Regions from separate parts of the Homo sapiens genome. Here all the other regions are linked to region 1. The links are contacts of gene promoters, found by promoter capture Hi-C in blood cells and fetal thymus (Javierre and others, 2016). All regions are on one chromosome and are shown on one strand. Each heading gives the region's core, a stretch centred on a gene start or on the middle of the fragment in contact. The rest is flanking DNA. Distances are from core to core; before and after follow the strand shown. Region 1 holds the start of GAS5 (growth arrest specific 5). Region 2 overlaps SUCO (SUN domain containing ossification factor). Region 3 overlaps RABGAP1L (RAB GTPase activating protein 1 like). Region 4 holds the start of LOC107985225 (a long non-coding RNA gene).

Region 1 (5,511 bases), core at 1,778-4,277:
CTTCTCCAGAAGGCTGATTCTCAGGCCCAAGCCACTCCTCCAGATTTTCAGTTTTGATGTGTACTGCTCCAAGAACTCTAACTTCATCATCACTCCGACCCCCACGGTCCGCCACTCCTGTCTCCACATACCACTGTCCTGCTCGGTTGATCCGAAGAATGGGCTCCCGGCTCTCTACATCAGAACTTGGTTCAATGATCTGAGGGCTGGTGGACTCCTCAGGAGGACTTAGCTCTCTGATATCCAGCACAGCACTAACCTGACCTCGCCGGTTTCCCTTTGGGGTATTATGTCGTGGGCTAAGGGAGCGGTTGAGATTTGGTGTAACCCTGTGAGACTCTGGAGGTCTCTCTTGATGCTTTGTCCTTGTTTGACTTAATTCTGCTTCAACCTCAGCCACATTAATTTTGAAATGAATGCCCTCCAGGATCTGTGTACATTTGTCTATAATATGCTGCATTTGCAGAAAACTGGCAGCTGTTAGGTAGCTGATGATATCTGCCAGTTGCAGGCATATCCGCCCTGTGTAACAGAAAGAAAGGAGCTGTTCAAAAACAGTAGGGTTCTTGATGACTGAAATGGAGACTGTACTCATCTCATTCAAGGACATGTGATCCCGGAAATAGGGGGAGCTGGCAGCCAGCACCACTTTGTGAGCCCGAAAAGCTTGTCCTTGCACATTGACCACAATATCACAGAGACGGCCCTGCATGCGCAACTGGTTTAGATGGCTCAGGACAGAGTTGCTGAAGTCAGGAATCTCCAATTGTATGTTCCCACCTTTCTCCATGGTCGTGCCTGAGGGTGCATTCAACCCTGCTGAAAAAAGAAACCATATTCTCATTAATAATTATAATTTTACTTCCCGGATGGTTTCCATTTCAAAAGTATTTAAACATAGTTATCTGGTAAAGTTTCAAAATCTCCAGATAAAAGAAATACCTTCCTTATATTTAGATGTGGAAACAGAATCACCAACAGGTTTTTCAGTTTAAGTTTCACAGGAGGACATAGTTAAAACTAAAAAGTGATCTTTAGACTCCTAAAAATTCATGTTATGACCATGCTTTCCTTACTAATAAGTTATATAACATCAAAACAGAAGTTCAACAGAAGGTAGGGGGAAGGACTTTTAAGTGTTAACTATAAGGTACTTGCAGACTGAATATAACATCTCATAACTTTACAACTTTTCTCTGGAGGAGGAAAGCTTTCTGAATAAATGCAATTCTACATAGCTTGATATCCCTCTTCTTAGTATTTTACTACCTGCTGCAAGAATTATGTTTATTATTTTATAAAAGGACTAATATCCCACATGAATGTAGGCTAATATTTCTAAGCTTAAGAATCAGAGCCCCCCCCACAAAAAGACTTTGGTTATAGGGCTGTGAAGCAAACTCTAGGAAAAATCCCACAGCTGTGCCAGGATTCAACCAAGATGCAGAGAATGTGAAGTTCAGTTGTCAAAATTAGGAAAGCTGGGTAAATCTGCCAAATTCGAAGTTGGCAATTCCGAGGTGGTGATGAATACTTCCATCCTGAAACTTAGTTCTCCAGATCCGATGAAAAAATACAGCATTTACCAAGTATGCCAACATTTTTCCATTAAAATATTTTTAAAAAATGGCTGAAACACTAAACCTGAAGCTGTATACAAGATAGTTGAAAGTACAGTTTCAACTACTGAAAATAGTTTGTATAAATCCGAACAGGAAGACATTTACTTAAGCCCAATGTGCGTTCACTTATCTATATATTACATAGTTACACCACACCTGAAACTTCAGGAACTTACTCTGCCAAGCTCACAGTACTGCCCCGCATTAACAACACACTTATTAAATAGGGAAGTGTATACACTGTTTTCAACAATCAACTTTAGCCAATCTGACCTTTTTCCAAAGCGTTATTGTTTGTTTTGAAACTTTTAATCCAATAAGAGCCTCTGTCGATGCCATCATGAATTCAGATGTGTTTATTTTGGAGCCTACACCAGCGCCTTTTTTGTTTGCTCTTTCCGGCAATTCCCCAGTGAGGAAGCCCCTGGAGGAAAGTCTTTCGCTACCGTCGGCACTGGAGGGGTGAGAGCTGTAAAAGGGAGAATTGGGAACGGCATGGGGTTGGCCACTCCAGCACTTGAGCAGCTTTCTTCTGCGTTAGGAAGCCTGGGGAGAGGGGAACTGGCTAAAGGGCAAAATGTCACTGAGGAACTTCGGAGAAGATGGGGACAAGGCGTCGGGCGGGGGAGCCAGCGCTCAGGTGAGAACTAGGAAGGGGGCGGCGCCCAGGGACCGGCTCCAGGCGGCGGCGGGCGGGGAGCTGCCAGGAGGTGGGTGTGCGTATCTGGGTGTGTCCCGGCTGCGGTGGGGGAGGGGGCCGCCCTTCCCGGGGTCCTGAGGGAGGGGCCCCGCGAGGGGGCGGGTCCGGCAGATCAGCCCGGCCGGGGGCCAAGGGGGTGGAAGGTCGCCCGGTGCCTGGAGGCGGGGTGAAGGAAAGTAGCTGAGCGCCCCAGGAGCGCGCTGCGGCGGAGGGCGGGCGAGGTGACCCCGGTGCAGGGAAGTGGCACTGGGGTGTGGGGCCCGAGTCCAGTCAAGGAGCAGCACCTACCTCCGGGGGTGGAAATGGGCCGGAATGGGCCGGAACACCGTCCCGGAAGTGAAATCCCCCACCCCCTCCCACGGAGCGGGCGACGTGCCGGAAGGAAATCACTCAGCCTTACACCGCCCCCCCTTCCCCCATCCCCAGAGCTTTCCTTGCCTCGCGCCCCCTCCCCTCTCTGCTCTTCCTCCTCAGTCGGGAGGAGGGCGGGAGCACGGCATCACGTGGACGGTCATGTCTCTGCCCACAATGGCGAGGAAGGGCGGGGAAAAGGGGCGGACTTAAGGGGTGGGAAGAAGGTGATACTGGATGAGAGGAAGATTGAGGGAGGTTAGGGGGAGGAGCCGAAGCGGACGCTGCCGGGAGCGTGCGTCGTGACGTCATCAAAAGAACTCTTATATACAGGAGCCCAGGCACCATACTGTCTTTTCGAGGTAGGAGTCGACTCCTGTGAGGTATGTTTTATCTTTGCGAATGTTGCGGGTTTTGGGGCGCTCCAGCCTTTGTCTGCTAAGGTCACCCTGAATTGACTGGGACTTCTAAGCCAGTCGCGCGCCTTTGCAGGGCCTACAAGTTGAGGATGGTGGGGGATTGCACATATGGTGCATGCGTGACCTAAGCTGCGACTATGTTAGAGTAGAACTGCGGAGAAGCCTCGGCTCTCGTGCCCTGCCTCTGATGAAGCCTGTGTTGGTAGGGACATCTGAGAGTAATGATGAATGCCAACCGCTCTGATGGTGGCACATGCCGAGTCACCCGAGTAAGCTATTGTTAAGGGCCGTGACCCGAGCCTCCATCAGCCGTCCGCTCTCATGAAAGGCTGTCGGTGGTAGTCCACGTGCTTAAGTGCCTGCATTCCGCAGTGTCACCAATATTTCCATTAGTGTTTCTTTTTTCTTTTTTGAGACCGAGCCTCGTTCTGTCACCCAGGCTGGAATGCAGTGGCTCGACATCGGTTAATGGCAACCTCCGCGTCCCGAGTTAAGCAGTTCTGCCTCAGCCTCCCAAGTAACTGGGACTACAGGCGCGCGCCACCATGCTAGGCTTTTATATTTTTAGTAGAGACGGGGTTTCACCATGTTGGCGAGACTGGTCTTGAACTCCTGACCTCAGGTGATCCACCAGCCGTGGTCCCCCAACATACTGGGATTACAAGCCGTGAGCCACCGCGCCCGGCCGCCATCGGTGGTTCTTAACTGCGGGTGCAGTGCTTCTTTGTAACATTAAGTGTATCCTTTACCTGTCGCTAGATAATGAATGGTATGTTACCTGCATCATTGGTTTAAAAAGACGAACCGTTTTTTTAAAGAACACTCTTTAAAAAAAAGAACCGTGGAACAATGAATTAAAATCTGTACCTGATCTCTTTAGGTATGGTGCTGGGTGCAGATGCAGTGTGGCTCTGGATAGCACCTTATGGACAGGTAAGAATTGGGGAAAGTATGGTGGGAAGAATGAAATCTAAGAGGTGGTCTCAGCCTGTGATGCTTTAAGAGTAGTGGACAGAAGGGATTTCTGAAATTCTATTCTGAGGCTTTAATGTTAACAGCATTTATATTTAACGTGACTGCTGTGAGGTTCATTCTCACTGTTTTGCTTGCATCTTTTTGTTTTCTAGTTGTGTCCCCAAGGAAGGATGAGAATAGCTACTGAAGTAAGTTGAAAATTCCCTCTCAAAAAGGTTTAAAGCCATTGGATGTGCCACAATGATGACAGTTTATTTGCTACTCTTGAGTGCTAGAATGATGAGGATCTTAACCACCATTATCTTAACTGAGGCACCCAAAATGGTGAGTTGGGGAACATAGAGAGTACACCTAAGTTCACATGAAGTTGTTTCTTCCCAGGTCCTAAAGAGCAAGCCTAACTCAAGCCATTGGCACACAGGTGAGACACCTCTATTTTGTACTTCTCACTTTTAAGGGATTAGAAAATAGCCAAAGCAATGATGATTATCTATGTTAGTGCTTCTCTCCCCTCTTTTCAAATGAGAATTTTGCTCTCATATTGATACTAAGTTTAATACTGAAGAAAATGTGAAAACAGATACTATGATGGTTGCATAGTTCAGCAGATTTAATCATGAAGAGATGTACTATCTGTCTGATGTATCTGGGGTAGTTGTGGTTTGCTGTTAATGGTTAAGCAGTGTACCACCAATCTACCATTAAAATATTTTTTGCTGACAATTTTGTATTAAAATTACAGGCATTAGACAGAAAGCTGGAAGTTGAAATGGTAAGTGAAACTGTATCCAAGTAAGCAGGTAACTGGGCAAACTTCCTACGGCACAAATGGCTTTTTAGTTACCTCCTAGTGCTGAATGCATTAAATAAATGGCGGATTCTTGTCTTGTTATGATTAATAAGAAAGTTTGTAAATGCAGCCTGGATGATGATAAGCAAATGCTGACTGAACATGAAGGTCTTAATTAGCTCTAACTGACTAAAGGCATTTGTTAGTTTTGGCAGGGGGTGAACACTCATCTGTGGCTATTCTAAGACCACTCTTATTTCTTAGGTGGAGTCCAACTTGCCTGGACCAGCTTAATGGTTCTGGTAAGTATTAATGAAAACAGTAGATAGACTTAATGAAAATGCTGATGGTGATATGCTTACTGCTGAGCTAATGGCTTAAGGCTTGGCTGATGAATACTGACTGTATTTTCCTTGAGCATGTCTGGAACAGTGTTTATGTGTTTTCCTTGAGCATGTTTGGAACGGGGTTTGTGTAATGATGTTGATCAAATGTCTGACCTGAAATGAGCATGTAGACAAAGGTAACACTGAAGAACCCTGTGACAGACAACTTTGAAAAGAGTTTAATGATGTTTAGCATTTTAATGGAAGTCCTCATTTGTATTCCAGCTCCTGGTAACGTTTTTATCCATGGATGACTTGCTTGGGTAAG
Region 2 (5,511 bases), core at 1,909-4,408, 1.3 Mb after region 1:
CAGCCACTCAATTAGCGCAGTATGGTTAAAGTTATCAGTGAAAATTGTAGTTTTTGAATATTACTTCCTGGATATCTGAAAAAATTTACTGAAATCCTGTAAGTATTGAGAAACTTGTGGGAAATGGGTGAATAATGTGGAAGCCATTTTGGTCAAACACTGGTAATAAAACAAGACCAAAAGATCACCAGGCCTCTAGTGCCTTTGCTTAAGCAACCTAGTTTCTCTCCATCACAATGTTTTATTAAAAGACAGATATTCTTCTAAACCACGTATCAGTCTGGAGCTCTTTTAAGGTTGCTTCTCTTCTGCTTGGTCTATCTGCTAATAGGTAAGAGCATACTGGGCCTCTTTCTCCTTGCAGTTTTTATTCTATTTGGCTGCATCAACAGTCCATAGTCAAATCACGTGCAATTGTACAGCTTAGCTGAGAAAGTTCTATGTTCTAGTGCCTGTTTCTAATTAAACCTTTGCATTTCAGTAGTTCTGACTTTTAACTTCACTCTGATGTAGGATTGGGTCTTAAATTTTCTTAGCTTAATATTCCACATATCAAATTCTATTAGAAAATTGTTTCACTAAACTGGCCCATAATTTCATTGATCCAACATAGAGAAGCACTTAGTAAACAAATGTGATATGTTCTGTTTTTATATCCTACCATTATAACCTACCATTAGAAATTCAGCCAATACAATTTGTCCTCTAAGATGCTGGAAATAATCATGCCCTATACTTGATAATAATATATTTTCAGAAATTGGGTACAGTGTATTTAGCCTCTAAAACACAAGTGACAGTAGTTTTGTTACCTTAATTTTCAATTAGAGACTACAAAAATAGTCCTCAAATAAATTACTACCAGGCCAACAGATCAGTCATGCTCAAACAAAGTCTCTATTAGGAAAAGCAGAAAATAAAGCTACAACAGTAAGTGTGGGTCAGACTGCAGGCATTTAAAAATTATCAAGGTTTAAAGTTTTATCCTTCAAGGAGCCTTTGAAAGATATTTCATCAGGGGACTGACATAATCAAAGCTGCATGTAAGACAAATCCAGTGGCACTGTGTAAAATGGGTTGCAGCATACAAGTATGAAGCTACTCTACATGTTAACTTTTTTTTTTTTATGTACTCTTCTACATCTCCTGGCTACCAAACAAATGTGTGGAATTCATGCCTACCAGCTCTCCAAATATCTTCTATTATTCTCCACTCCCAAAAGCTATCAATCACTTCCCTCTTTTGAAAAGTTTCTCAGTTTTCAAGCTCTCCAAACTTATCTAAGACATTTTATATTGTTGACCACTTAAATGACTTCCTTAAATCTCTTTCCATCCATCCTTTCCAGTTTCCTCCTTTCTTTCAGAGCTTTACTATGCTTGGCACCTTTCTTTATTCTGTTTCAAAAGTCCAATGTTCTCTTTCAAAAATGATTCCCTCTATGACAGCGGTCCCCAACCTTTTGGCACCAGAGACCAGTTTCATGGAAGACTACTTTGCCATGGATGGGGTGGGGGGCCATTAGATTCTCATAAGGAGTACACAACCTAGATCCCTCGCGTGTGTGGTTCATAGTAGGGTTCATGCTCCTATGAGAATCTAATTCTGCTGCTAATCTGACAGGAGGTGGAGCTCAGGCAGTAATGCTCACTCACCTGCTGTTCACCTCCTGTTGTGAGGTCAGGGTCCTAACAGACCACGGAGCAGTACTGGTCCGCAGCCCAGGGGCTGGGGACCTCTGCTTTACGAGGATAACTCCAGCCAACTTTTTTTCTTTTTTTTTGAGACGGAGTTTCGCTCTTGTTGACCAGGCTGGAGTGCAATGGCACGATCTTGGTTCACCGCAACCTCCGTCTCCTAGGTTCAAGTGATTCTCCTGCCTCAGCCTCCCAAGTAGGTGGGATTACAGGCATGCGCTACCATGCCCGGCTAATTTTCTATTTTTTTTAGTAGAGACGGGGTTTCTCCATGTTGGTCAGGCTGGTCTCGAACTCCTGACCTCAGGTGATCCGCCTGCCTCGACCTCCCAAAGTGCTGGGATTACAGGCATAAGCCACCGTGCCTGGCACTCCAGGCCAAATTTTATCTGCATTCAAGTCTGCATTTTTAAGTGCCCATAAAATGTCTCCACTTGGATATTCCATTCACCTCCAACTAACAGCTCCTTCCCCTTCCAAGCCCTTTGCCAACTCTTCCACTTCTTTTTGACCACCACCAATTCTTCTAGTTGCCCAAGTTAAAACAAACAAGCAAACAAACAGAAAACAAACAAAAAATGCTTAACATTTCTTTTCTCATTGAACTTTATTTCACAGATTCATAATTTTAGGCCCTAGAATGTACTCTCAGTGACAGTGTGCTCCAAGAAAGCAGTTACTTTGTTTTGTCCACCAGAATCCTGTATAGGATACAGCACACTGAAGCCTAAGTAAATATCTCTTTGCATTGAGATGGACAACAGAAAGGGGATGTTGAACAGAGTTTGGTTAGAGGCAAACTAAAATCCAGTTATTTAGAATCCTAGCCTAATGCTGTTATCTGCTGCACTGCACTGCACTACTGCCAGCTTGCCAACCTTTCACAAAATTAAATCATTTACCTCCTCAAAAATCTCTATTTATTGTACCCTGTTCTTTATTTCTACTGCCAAGATGAAGTCCTTCTTATGACAAGCCTCAATTACTCCAAGGGCTTTTTAGCCCGGTCATCCCTTGGGATCCAGAAGGGGTTGGATCCAGGATCCGAAGATACCAAAATCTGAGAATGCTCCAGTCTCTTACATAAAATGGCATTTGCATATCACCTATGCATATCCTCCCATATAAATATCTAGAGGTGATTTAAAATATCTAGAGATGATTTAAAACATCTATGCATATCCTTCCATATAAGTATCTAGAGGTGATTTAAAATATCTAGAGGTGATTTAAAACATCTATGCATATCCTCCCATATAATATCTAGAGGTGATTTAAAACCTAACACTATGTAAATGCTATGTAAATAGCTGTTATACAACATTGTTTTTATTTGTATTTTTATTGTTGTATTGTTATTTTTATTGTTTTTAAAATATATTTTCAACCTGAGGTTGGTTGAATCTGTGGATGTGGAAAGCCAATTGTATTCACCCCTCTAAGTCTCCTTCCTCTAAAAACAAATCTAGCACAATTATGTCAAAATAATGTTCTCACAACACCACTTTTCTTGCTGAATCTTTATTATCTAATTCTTTGGACTGGTTTGCAAAATCTACCACAATCTCTGAAATCTCTCTCTTTCTCCTCAGGCTTTTCTGTTTACTACCACTCTTACCCATATCAACTAGATTATCTCTTCCATTCATAACTCTCTTTCTCCTTGACAATTAAGTGCCATCTACCCACTGCAAGCAGGCAGACAGACATACACATGCACACACAAAGAAATAGCCATTATTCATGTTATCAACACCAGTACATCTTATTTCAGCTCATGAAGCTCCTGTTTGCACAGAAGCAGAGTTTATAAACCACACATTTCCCTTAAACCCAAGTCAAGCCTTCCTTGAGAACTCTAGCCCTCATTTTCTCCTCTTAAGCACTTACTATGCAGTTCAGTTTTATGTGTTGTTTATTAACATTCAAATCAAGTATCTTAGAATGTTAGACATATAAAAAATAAACTGAGTTCACCTAATACAGTAATACAGACTTGAATGCATAAAAGAGTATCACAAACTTACTGACAAAATCTACAAGGTAAGAATCCTAGGTATGCGTATTTCTTTTAAAAGTTTCATGAACAATTCCAATGTCCATTCCTTCCTAGGCTAATACAGGCACCCACATTTTCAGATGAAAAAAACTGACACTTTGCCAGATAAAATTATTAACTAGAAAAAGTGAAGAAACTTGCCCAAGACCATCTACCAGCCAACTGGCAGCACAGCATACCGGTTAAGAGAACACAGGCTTAGAACCTGGCCTTCTTAGTTCTGGCTCTGTTGCTTCCTGGCTGTAAGAACTTGGGCAAGCTGTTAAGAACTTAACTTCTTTGTGCCCACCTTTCTTCATCTTTAAAATGGAGTGTCTGCCTTAAAACATCTATACAGAGAATAAAATAATTTAATGCATATTACACTGAATAGTATTTAGTACTTAGAAGAGAAATAATCACTCAATAAATGTTCATATTAACAATGAAAAGAAAGAACTACAACCAAGCTCTGACATAGTTTTATGCCTTTCACACTACACCACTATCTGTATTGTAACAAGCAGCTTATATACAGAGCTCAAGTCTCACAATTCTTCTGTATCCTTCATCACACCAAATACATTGTGAATAATCAAATAATATTTAAGTGGATTTATAAATTCCCATTTTTAACTCTGAAACCTAGGCCATCTTATTTCTACTCAACAAATTACCAAAGTAGCTAGAGTCAATGAATAACTCATACAGTAGTGCTTACTACGAGTGAGGCACTGTTCTTAGCCTTTACATGTTTTTTCTCCAGTAGATTACAAACGCTACATAATAATACAAAATTAGCTTAGTACCTATGAACCGTATTAATGTTACAGAATACTTTCTGATACAGCCAGGTGTCACTTTCATGTAAAATATAAAATAATTTTAACTAGCAATTAATTATAAAGTCCTAAAACCAAATCTTCTTTCAAAAAAACTTGCATTTATTAAACAAATTCATCCCAAAGGATTAACACTCTTATACTGCAAATATTCAAAAGCAATTTCCTATTCCCTTGTGACATGTACAATTTGACTTTTAAATTAGTCTAAAATATGGCCTTGAAAAACATAACATACAACTGGCACTAAAGTATAATCTAAAACATGTAGATAAGTTTCAAGAGATTTCATCTCTTTCCAGTTATGTATAAACTACTAAACAAAAGCATCACGTACATACAGGTGTTTCTATTTGAAGATGACTTGAGAATAATAAAGCACTTAAATTTTTATAAGTTTCCCTTTCATTATAAGCATAAGAATATTAATTATACATATTGATTCTTTTCTCCATTCAGACTGTTGAGAAAAGTGAAAGAGTGATGTACAAGTTCATGAACAAACGAAAAATGAAATAACCAATACTCAAAAGAGCTGATACCTTTTATTTTTTCCATTGCCTGTCAACCCTACTGCCTGCTTCCATTCCAGTATATCCTCAAATGTTTAATAACATAAAGGACCAACATGAAACACGTCATTTGCCGTCTTTTATTGGACACAGTGTTCAAGTGTTATGCAAAGATGTCACACACCTTCTTTCACAGACCTTTTCCTATTAAGTGGCTTCATCTAACTTGTCTGAAGGGATCTGACACTGTATGACCCGACACCTCTTATAAATAAAAATACCAGGTGCTTTCTTCAGAATATATATCCTAGAGCAAAGATAAACTTTTTTTCCTCAGTCTTTCACATTAAGTTCCACTAAAAAAATCATTTTTGTAAAGGTCATCTTTCATTGGTTTATTCAAGGAAAGAAAAAAAAGGCA
Region 3 (5,511 bases), core at 1,813-4,312, 1.1 Mb before region 1:
TTTTTTTTTGAGACAGAGTCTCGCTCTGTCACCCAGGCTGGAGTACAATGGTGCGATCTTGGCTCACTGCAACCTCCACCTCCCAGGTTCAAGAGATTCTCCTGTCTCAGCCTCCCTAGTAGCTGGGATTACGGGCGCATGCCGCCACACCTGGCTAATTTTTTGTATTTTTAATAGAGACTCGGTTTCACCGTGTTCCCCAGGCTGGTCTCGAACTCCTAAGCTCAGGCAATCCACCTGCCTCGGCCTCCCAAAGTGCTAGGATTACAGGCGTGAGCCACTGCACCAGACAGCCTTCACCATAATTTGATAAGATTGAAACACTGTCATTATCAAGTCTAAATACTTAACAATATCTTATAATGTCTCATTGATACTGAAAGTTCTAATTGCAATCTAAGGCTTCTGCTATATATGTATGAGAGAAACAAGCATTGCAATGTGTGATTTAATCATGAATCAACCAATAACCTCAGAAAAGACTCAGCCCTAATATCAGAAATGAGGATCTCTGATAAATGATTTCTGAAAGAACTAACCAGGCCAGTTGTTCAACTTAAAATAAAACAAAATAATTTTCCACTTAGTCCATGTAGCTTCTGGTCTAACAGAACTTGCTATGGTGAGAGGGAACCTAGACCCCTGGTCCTCAGCAGGACAGTACTAATCATGTCTCTTCTCTTTTGTTCCTTGCAAATAGGGAAGGACAGGAAAGGCCTGAAAGCAGATAGCAAACAGAAACTGAAATGGAGATGTTGCACCTTTTTTTCACTTCTAATCACTGAGAAATCTTTATTTAAGGAATCCGAGAGAGGGCGAGTTCTCAAGAGAGGAAGGCTCTGCCAGAGGGAAAAGCTGAAGAGCCTTTGGTGCCCAGGAAGCCTGAAATTAGCACTAAAATGGTCAGAGTAAGAAATGATTTATTTTTGCAAAGAACCTAATTTCCTAATTAGTGTTTGTTTGCTTACATATTGTCTTAAATACAATCTACTTTTATATTTGTTTAAAGTTTGCCAGTGTTTTGCTATTTTAATTAAGAGATCTGATTTTCATGAACTGGGAATGGGAAAGTACTGGGCAAACTAGGTGAAGGCCTGCAAAGCCAGTACTTTTCACTCTCAGGCTAGGGCCCTTCCTAGAAGACTGGTGGGGCAGGTCACTTCAACTGCAGGGACAGCTTTTTGGTAAGCAAATAAACCCCAATGAGGAGGAAACTGCAAAATCAGAAGTTAGGAGGAAATATGCATGAAACAGCAGTTTTTATTCTTTCATCTAGATTCTTTCATCTAGATAAAAAGCTCCCAAAGGGAGGGTCCAGGTCATATTTACTTTTCTTAAAAGAGAGGGAAAGAGAGTCAAGGAGGGAAGAGAGAAGGCAGAGGAAGAATGAAGGTCTGATGGAACCTTTTCTTCAGGGGCTGTTCTAGCACTCACATCATGAGCTACCCTGGTACTCAATAATCAATTACTTCAGGAATACCTATAATGGCAGTCACTCCAGACTGACTCACATAAAGGGTTCTCTTGGTGAAGAAATGATTTTTAAGATAATAATTTTTTTCTGATTATTAAAGTTATATATATTATTTAGTATTATATTCATATATAATATGCATATTATAATGTTCATTATTTTTCTGATTTTTAAAAGTTCCAATGCTCATTTTTAGTTAACCTATGGTGGTTAAGTAATTTAGGGTCTTTCTATAAATTCTAAATGGGAAAAAACTATAAAGATGAATATAAAAATTATATTTAATCTTATCACCCAGAGATACCTAGCAGTAACATTTTGATGTATTTCCTTGTGGGCTTCTTCCCTATCTAGGTATACTATGGTCCCCTTCCCTATAGGATGACCCAATGCCAGCCAGTAGCCCTTGAAATTTAGATGCAAACATTATAAATGTTTACTGTTTACAGAAAAAAAAAAGTATTTTTTAAAAAAATACTTTATCATTATTTTCCCATTAACAAAAATTATTCCAGAAAGACATTTTACAGTCAAACTGTCATTCTCCCCTACTAGTGAACATAGATAAAATAATATTTCTATTTTTCATTCTTATAAGTAACACTGCAGTAAACAACCTTGTATATACATTTTTTTTAAACAGATCTTTTTTTTTTAGGATAGCTTTACAAGTCAGAGGATCTCTAGTTTCCTCATCTATATAGTTTCCTCATTCATGAAATGGAGGATTAAAATAATAACTGCTTCCTGGAGTCATTAGGGAGATTAAATGAGATGATGTTTATAAATTGCTTTATTTAGTGCTTGGCACATAGTGGGTACATAGTAAAATTTAATTTTATTATTGCTTAAACCTTTTAACGTCTTAACACATATTACCAACTACATTTGCCAAACAACTTTGAAACTCTCCTTAGCTCATTTCACTGCATCCCCACTGAATCCAACTGTTTAAAAATTGTTTCATTTAGTCAGCCATCATAAGAAAATTATTAATGGATAAAAGATTCAAAATGGCAGAATCAAGTGTGAATCAAGACCATTTGGAAAGTTAACATAGAACCAAGACTTTCATTATAGCACTGACTTATCTCAACAGTCTCATGAATACAAAAATATGACCACTGAGGTAAGGCTGAATTGACCCTGATTGAATGGAGATCCGGCTACCTTCTTTGGTTCTGACTCTCCTAGTCACATATTTCTCATACCACTTCTCACAGCTTCCAAATGGGTGGGCTGAATGAGGTTTGTGGTTAACAGGGCCACAACTTTTTAAAAAACCATTCTCTGGGCAGCTTTTTCTACCTTCCATATCCTGTGTCCCAAACAACACAGTTTTTGTTTTTGTTTTTGAATTCCCTTTAGTGCCAGCTCTCTCAGCTACATCTAACATTTAATGAACACATACTATCGAAGTGTTTTACTTATTTAATTGTTATATCATCTCTATGAGATAGACACCTTTTTATACCTATAGACAGCTTAAGAACTGTCCAGGGTCATATGGTTCACAGTGGTGGTGCCAGCATTCACAATCAGGCAGTCTGGCTCTCAGCCACTCAGATGCCTATCAATCTAACAATCCAACTCTTAATGTAGGTACTTCATGTAAAAGTTCACATTTATTATGGAGAATAATTCTTACTGGAACAAAAAGTAAGGCATCTACTGTTAGAGTGGCATTAGTACAGGCATATTCTTGGTGACTGATGTTCTCAGATAATTATGCTGACAGCCATTGGTTCAGGAAAGGTATCAACAAAGACATAACAGAGTTTAGAGGTATAAAGAAAGTATGTCACACATGCTATTTAGAAATGACCCAAACCTTTCTCAAAGGCTTATGTTTTCCATGGTCTCCAATTAACAGACTGTCCCTGCCACTTGTCCATTCCTCAAGAACAAAGTCAAGAACAAAGCAAGTTTGTGGGGGCGGTGATGAGGGCAAATCGGTCTTTGCCCTGAGGAAGTCATCACAGTCTCATTTCTAAGGATTACCTGATCCAAGTCATTCCGTAGAGCAATTTTGCTTGTTACTAGTTCATGGGCAAGGTCATCATTCTCTTGTTCCAACCTCATGCTGGCCTCCTGTAATCTTCGGTTCTCCCTCTGCAGAAGAACAATAGCCAGAGGTGGGCATTAGTGTCTGGACATACAGAAACGAACAGAACTGGTGAGGAAAAACAAGCAACAAAGTGAACTTTCAAAGGTGTAAAAAGGAGAAGGCGCAAGTGGCACAGGAAGGCAGGATTGCTGTCTGGGAAACAACAGTGAGTTTAGCTAGCAATGCAGATGCGGTTCTCTACCCGGTGAAACTGGTCCCTTAAACTCTCAAGATGGAACTTCATTATAAAAAATGTGCCACAAAGAACAAACTTTCTGAGCATATCCCCCCCAATCCTGTGAGGTTTTTACATAGATCTAGAACACAGACACAAACAATTCTTTATTTGAAACATGCACGGTAGTCTCACCCTTGACCTCAAGAGAAACCACAAGACACAGTAGGAATGAAACAGGGGAAAACCACCAGACATTTCTTCAAATTGTTTTTCTAAGACAGGGTTCATATTGAGTATATTTAAGAGCTCTAAATCAAGAATCATGACACATGGGTTCATGACTTTGCTAACAGCTGACATTTTTATTCTTTGAGTAAGAATATATTTACTTTTCTGAACACCTATTTTTGTGTGAGAGCAACAGTCATAAGATATCTAGTTTTTTTGTTTTTTAAAAAATTTCAGATTAAAACATTCTGGGTAAAATAAATTACTGAGGATTTCTGCTCCCAACCTTGAAAAATCTGAAACAAAGTTACATGATAAAAAAACAAACAAAAAAACGAAACAAACAAACAAACAAAAAGAAAGAAAAAAAAAAAACCAAGTCACTAATTCTTATGAAGCAAGGCCTTTCCTTAACTAAACACTATGAACTTGGTATGTTCACAACTATTTTCAGAATAGCTATTTCATGTCTTCCATTCCAAAGTATCAAAATTGCTTTCTTTGCTACTGTTAACAGTTATAGGAGATTCAAAAGAGAGCTGACAGGAAAGACTAATGTCATGAGACCTTCCTGTTTTTCAGATTTACACGTCTAACAGTGTTTTCTGCAAAGGTGGCAAAAACTCAGACAAAGCAGTGACAAAAAACTAGAAGACAAATATATGTTTTGGAAGATAGTTTATCATAGCATACCAGGTAATGTGAAGTTAATTGTATCTTCTATATAACAACCTGGTGTTTGTTATATTGAAAGAGAAGACAATTTCTTTCTTTTTCCTGTTTTTTAAAACAAGGGCTAAGAAACACATGGTAAGGGCAAAGTCTGAGGCTTTCACAGAGGCAGAGGATCCATAAACAGGGAAGGCTGTCAGAGAAGTTAAAGGACAAAACCGCACCTTGATTATACCAGCCACCAGGGCCCATTTCTGTCTTTTTTTTTTTTTTTGGAAAAAAATAAGAATAGTTGGAGAATGTTAAAACATTATTGAAAAACATATCGACTAAAAAAGATAAAAACAATCCCAAATCACTTTAATACTTTAAATAAATTCACAATAGAATTCTACTCAGTGTTAAAATACTGGAGAAGGCTGGGTGCAGTGGCTCATGACTGTAATCTCAATACTTTGGGAGCCTGAGACCGGAGGATTGCTTGAGCCCAGGAATTCAAGACCAGCCTCAGCAACATGGCAATACCCCATCTCTACAAAAAAATTTTTAAAAATTAGCTGGGTACAGCTGGGCACAGTGGCTCATGTCTGTAATCCCAGCACTTTGGGTGGCTGAGGTGGGTGGACCACTTGAGGTCAGTTCAAGACCAGCCTGGCCAACATGGTGAAACCTCATCTCCACTAAAACAAAACACAAAAATTAGATGGGTGTGGTGATACACACCTGTAATCTCAGCTACTCGGGAGGCTGAGGCAGGAGAATTGCTTGAACCTGAAAGGCAGAGCTTGCAGTGAGCCAGAATTGCACCACTGCACTTCAGCCTAGGTGACAGAGTTAGTGAGACTCCATCTC
Region 4 (5,511 bases), core at 2,045-4,544, 1.1 Mb after region 1:
AGGCGTGAGAGGCCTTACGTCTGCAGCACCCACGCAGTGCCTGGCATATAAGAGGACTGAATAATGCATATGTGTTGACTGACTCCCAAGGAAAACTGTGCAACTTTGTCTAACCCAGTGTCCCGCATACACAGCTCAATGCAAAAGCCTTCTGTCCCCTGACCTAGCCTACCATAGGGAAAGTGGCTCTGTGGTACTGAGGCATGCCACTGCACATGGGGAGGAAAGGGATAGTTCATCCAAGATCCACCTCAATCTAGAGAAAACGTTTAGTTTAAACTTAAGCGCAAATCAAAGTTCAGATAGAAAGCTCTCTTATGCATTAAAATGTTGGGGGTAAAATGTGAAGGCCTTGAAATACGAGAAAACAAAACTGAGAAATTTTACCCTGTGCCTTGGTTTCACAGGGTAATAGGCAGAAACTGAAACCAACAGACATTTCTGTTGACAAGTTCATCTTCTCAAGCCCTACAGCCCAGGAAGATTGTCATATTATTTAAAATAAGCAAGAGACTCCTCACCACAAAGCTAAAGGGCAAAGCAAATCTGTCACACTCCTCAAGGGACACACAGCTAGAAGGGCTCACCTAAATGCAGAAATGCTGAAAAGAAAGGGGGAGGGAAAGCAAGATGCCTCCTCCTCCACTTTCTCTGACTGAGGCTCTGAAGTCTGCTCCTTGCTGCATGAGTGACAAGGACTCGGTCGGCTCTAAAACACCAAAAAATGGGGGAAGTGACACTGGGTGACATTCTCCATGAGAGAGATGAGTAATAGTCTCAAAAAGTGCATGGTCTACTACCCCTACAGACTTTAGCATGACACCTCCCCCACCGAAACAGTGAGCCAGCAACAAATAGCAAATGTCACAGAAAACAAATCTCTTACAGTTGGGTCCCTCCCCAGCTGAGGTTTCAGAGGAGGGAGGCCAGCCAAGAATACAGAAGTGGTGAAAAGTCTGGCCATGTAAACCCCTTGGGTGCTTTTATACACAGGCGCTATAACTGAGCATCCCTAAGTGCCAAGGCCTACGTTAAGTTTCTTTTTAAAATACTCTATCTTATTTAAATAAATGTAGAGGGCAGTCACAATCAGCTTAGTTAATGATGCAAACACTGGAAACCAAAGGGGGTCAAAGAAGAGATGTACATTATACACACATATGAACACACACACACACACACACACACACACACACACACACACACACCCCTTCCGCCATTCCTGGTCTATTATTTTATAAATGAAGAACTTCAGAGCAAGTAGTGCATTCAAGCAAGCCTGCCTTGTCTGAGTACCAGTAGAAAAGGGATGTTTATGTGCTGATGACAGATGAATGATTAGGGCTCTTCTAGCTTGATTTTCAGGTCCCGAGATGGTGCCACTTCCTTATTTCCCCTTCTGCTGCTGCTCCGAGTCACTGCAGAGCTCTGGTCACGTGCACACTAAGTGAGGACACCTCAGCCAAACATTGGGCCCTAGGGACAGCAAAGTTGTAGCTACTGACTATTATAAAAGGCTATATTTCTTAATGATTAAGTAGAAGAATAAAAGAGATTAATAAGGGGGAGAAAAAGACTATTACTTCTATCTAATAGTTACTCAGTAAATGGTATTGAAAATTCATAGCACATTGATACAATACTGACTCTGGAGGGAAAATACAAAGCAGGCTTCCAAAGTATCCAAAATAAGGTAATTTTCATTTTCATTTCATATCTAGCAGAATCTGATATTTGCCAGGTCAGGGGTCTTTTCACTCAGGCCTTATTATGATATGGGATTAATAATGCTATCCCTGGGATAATCCTTCCACTTTCACCACCATCAAAAACACCACAATCCTCTGCTTGTCCCCAAACTGTCTGACTACACCAGCAAATAGACATGGCTAGAGGAAAACAAAACATTCTATTTTCATGTTGTTCAGGTGCCTGGAGTACATATCTGGCACATAGTAAATTAAATATCTGTTAACAAGTATTTGTTGTTAAGTTGTTCATTTGTTTTATAAAGACAGGTTCTTGTGAGCAAGAACTGTCACCCATACTGGAATGCAGTGATGCGATCACAGCTCATTGTAACCTTGAACTCCTTTGCTCAAATGATCCTTTTGCCTCAGCATCCTGGATAGCTAGGACTATAGGTGAGCACCACCATGCCCAGCTAATGCTTTTTATCTTTTGCAGAATCAAAGGTCCTTGTATGTTAGGCTGGTCTCAAACTCCTGGCCTCAAGCGATCCTCCTACCTTGGCGTTCTAAAGGGATTACTGGTATAAGCTACTGCACCTGGCCTATTTGTTGTTAAATGAAAACATAGTCTTCCTTAGGAGGTAAGATGAGTGACAAATTACTTGAAAACTTGGTCAGGTGTTTCATATTTATGTAAATTGGTGAGATTAAAGGATGGGACCCATGAATGAGCTTCGGGAGGGGGGTGTCCAAAGTTTTTTGTCTTGTTATTTTCTGTGTGTTTTTAATGAACTCCTCATGTGCTATGAATCAGAAATCTATAGGTTGTATATGTTTTTCTTACAGGATATTCTCTCCCACAAGTACCTTGATGTGCATGAGTGTTAGAATACTACTACATTGTAGAATGAGGTGGGAAGAAAGTGAGATCCTTTGATAAAACAGAAATCTTAAAGAACTGTAATAAGAATTGACATCAGGTACTCAGTCTCTCTCCCTCGATAGTTCTTTACCTCACTTTATAACCTAACAAGTGTGTGCTTTTAGCTTCATTAAACACAGTCCAAGAGTCAAAGGCAAAGCCTCATCACTTTGCCTTTCTTGTCATCCTAACCCAGTAACTCTTTTTTTCTCTCAAGCTGCACCCATTTCCATCATTTGACCTTCTATAATTCCCTCAACCATTCCTTCAAAGCTCAGTACTAATACCCTTTTCTCCCTTATTCCCACTTTTTTCAAAGTTCCCATCTTTTTCTCCTACCCTGAAAATTCCCCACCCCGTTTGTTCATCCCTCTTTATTTCATGCACTTATTCTTACTCACCCGATTTGACCTTTGTATTTGCTTTTCTTGTGGGGTTACCCATATTTTTTACTTTCTCTTTTCCATTTTTGTCACACCTCCTGCCAAAAAACAAACAAACAAACAAACAAACAAACAAAAAACCTTTTCTCCTAGAATCCCACTTCCTTGCTCTTCTCTCTAGGTTATTCTTACCTTTCTGCTCCTCTTGAATTATATAAAGCTTGACTTCTACATTCTTACTTAGAAAGAAAATGTAATGATTCTTAAATGTCTATTACTTGTGTCCTTGGATTTTACCCCAGAACTTTTTCAGCTTCATCTAGAGTTTTTATAGATCAATATTGGCATATAACAGGACCTCCTTGTTTCAAGCTTCTTCCCCTCACATATTCACTATAGTAAAGGAAACCACATAAGCTTTAGCAAATTGGAAGGGACAAAGCTGACAAAACCATAGAACACTCAACTTGCTCTTCTTCTTCTTATTTCCTCCTTCTGTATAACTTCTCTCTGGCAAATTGTGTCGTATTATATCAACTTGCATATGATTGATTCTCATATTATTTTTGATTATAAATAGTCACATATTAGTGACTATTATAAAAGGCGATATTTCTTAATGATTAAGTAGAAGAAAAAAGAGATTAATAAGGGGGAGAAAAAACTATTACTTCTATCTAATAGTTAGTAAATGGTATTGAAAATTCTTAGGACATATATATTCTTTATGTCCTTTTGTTTCTCTCTCCTCTCCTTCTAGGACTCCCATGGTACATATATTGGTATGTGAAAAAATAATGGCAGAAAATGTCCCAAACTGATGAAAATCTTAATCTACACATCAAAAAAGCTCAACAACTCCAAGTAGAATAAGCTGAAAGAGGTACACACCTACACATGTATTAGTCAAACTGTCAAAGATAAAAATGAATCCCAAAAGCAGCCAGCAAAAATGATTCATCACATACAAGGGATCTGCAATGAAATGAACAGCTGACATATGATCTGAAACTAAGAAGGCCAAAAAAGTTGGATGACATATTTAAAGTGCTAAAAGAAAAAGAATCTCACACAAAAATTCTATATTGAGCAAAATTTTCTTTCAGAAGTGAAGGGGAGTTTAAGACATTCTCAGATAAACAAAAACTGAGAAAATTTACTGCTAGCAGATCTCCCTCACAAGAAATAGTATAGGGAATTCTTCAGGCAAAATTAAACAACACTAGAGAGTAACTTGAATCCACACAAAGAAATAAAGAGCATAAGTAAAGTTAAGTACATGGTGAAATTGAGTTTGATATTGTCCAGTCTGAGGAACAAAAAGAAAAAAAAGCGTGAAGAAAAATAAACAGTTTAAGAGTCCTAGGGATCTGGTGAGAGGTAATTGAATCATGGGGTAGTTCTTCCATGCTATTGTCATGACAGTGATTAAGTTCTCATGAGATCTGATGGTTTTATAAGGGCTTCTCCCTTCACTCAGCTTTCATACTTCTCCATGCTGCCGCCATGTGAAGAAGGATGTGTTTGCTTTCCCTTCCACCATGATTGTAAGTTCCCTGAGGCCTCCCCAGCCATGTTGAACTGTGAGTCAATTAAACCTCTTTCCTTTACAAATTTCCCAGTCTCAGGTATGTCTTAACTAGCAGTGTTAGAACAGACTAATACAGTAAATTGGTACCACAGAGAGTGGGGTGCTGCTGTAAAGAAACCCAAAAATGTGGAAGTGACTTTGGATCTGGGCAGAGGTTGAAACAGTTTGGAGGCTCAGAAGCAGAAAGAAAAATGTGAAAATGTTTGGAGCTCCCTAGACTTGTTGAATGGCTTTGACCAAAATACTGATAGTGATATGGACAATAAAATGCAGGCTGAAGTGCTCTCAGATGGAGATGAGGAACTTTTTAGGAATGGGAATAAAGGTCACTCTTGCTAGGCAAAGAGACCGGCAGCATCTTTTGGTTCTGCCCTAGAGATCTGTGAAACGTTGAACTTGAGAGAGATGACTTAGAGTATCTGGTGAAAGAAATTCCTAAGTGGCAAAGCATTTAAGAGGATGCAGAGCATAAAAATTTGGAAAATTTGCAGCCTGATGATGTGATAGAAAAGAAAACCTCATTTTCTGGGGAGAAATTCAAGCCAGTAGTGGAAATTTGCATAATCACCAAGACAATGGGGAAAATGTCTCCAGAGCATATAAGAGACACAGCAGCCCCTCCCATCACAGGCCCGGAGGCCTAGGAGGGAAAAATGGTTTCATGGGCTGGGCCCCGGGCCCCCTTGCTCAATGCAGCCTCAGGACATGGTGCCCTGCACCCCAGCTGCTTCAGCTCTAGCTGTGGCTAAAAGGGGACAATGTACAGCTCAGGCCATTGTTTCAGAGGGCTCAAGCCCCAAGCCTTGGCACCTTATACATAGTGTTGGGCCTGTGGGTGCATAGAAGTCAAGAATTGAGGTTTGGGAACCTCTGCCTAGATTTCAGAGGATGTATGGAAATACTTGAATGTTTAGGCAGAAGTTT

What was found. The method cuts DNA at HindIII sites, captures the fragments that hold promoters and counts their contacts. A CHiCAGO score of 5 or more calls a contact.
Region 2: a fragment that was not itself captured here is called in contact with the fragment with the promoter of GAS5 in region 1 in 1 of 17 cell types (activated CD4 T cells); the score reaches 5.8 in activated CD4 T cells.
Region 3: a fragment that was not itself captured here is called in contact with the fragment with the promoter of GAS5 in region 1 in 1 of 17 cell types (neutrophils); the score reaches 7.6 in neutrophils.
Region 4: a fragment that was not itself captured here is called in contact with the fragment with the promoter of GAS5 in region 1 in 2 of 17 cell types (total B cells and naive B cells); the score reaches 7.5 in total B cells.

Annotation. Positions count from the first base shown.
Region 1 is chr1:173,865,505-173,871,015 of GRCh38, reverse strand. GAS5 (growth arrest specific 5) reads left to right here and starts at 3,027. Exons shown (of 12, transcript NR_002578.4): 1 at 3,027-3,056; 2 at 3,973-4,025; 3 at 4,220-4,255; 4 at 4,449-4,488; 5 at 4,810-4,839; 6 at 5,122-5,159; 7 at 5,469-5,511. ZBTB37 (zinc finger and BTB domain containing 37) reads right to left here and starts at 2,636. Exons shown (of 5, transcript NM_001122770.3): 1 at 2,611-2,636; 2 at 1,896-2,091; 3 at 1-816. The coding sequence starts at 790. SNORD75 (small nucleolar RNA, C/D box 75) reads left to right here and starts at 4,078; the gene lies at 4,078-4,137. SNORD74 (small nucleolar RNA, C/D box 74) reads left to right here and starts at 3,271; the gene lies at 3,271-3,342. It also overlaps SNORD78, SNORD44, SNORA103, SNORD77 and SNORD76. RefSeq lists enhancers at 744-843, 1,358-2,557 and a silencer at 2,192-2,601. The HindIII fragment of the contact is 5,638 bases long and covers 1,346-5,511 here.
Region 2 is chr1:172,538,656-172,544,166 of GRCh38, reverse strand. All of the region lies in intron 1 of SUCO (SUN domain containing ossification factor), which reads right to left. Among named protein-coding and RNA genes, the nearest start is that of SUCO, 8.3 kb to the right of the region's middle. The HindIII fragment of the contact is 6,568 bases long and covers 1-5,511 here.
Region 3 is chr1:174,967,352-174,972,862 of GRCh38, reverse strand. RABGAP1L (RAB GTPase activating protein 1 like) reads right to left here. Exons shown (of 26, transcript NM_001366446.1): 21 at 3,476-3,586. Among named protein-coding and RNA genes, the nearest start is that of RABGAP1L-AS1, 16 kb to the right of the region's middle. The HindIII fragment of the contact is 6,694 bases long and covers 1-5,511 here.
Region 4 is chr1:172,814,374-172,819,884 of GRCh38, reverse strand. It overlaps LOC107985225 (a long non-coding RNA gene), which reads left to right and starts at 2,188. Exons shown (of 3, transcript XR_001738297.2): 1 at 2,188-2,332; 2 at 2,538-2,671; 3 at 3,757-4,327. RefSeq lists an enhancer at 358-807. The HindIII fragment of the contact is 152 bases long and covers 3,219-3,370 here.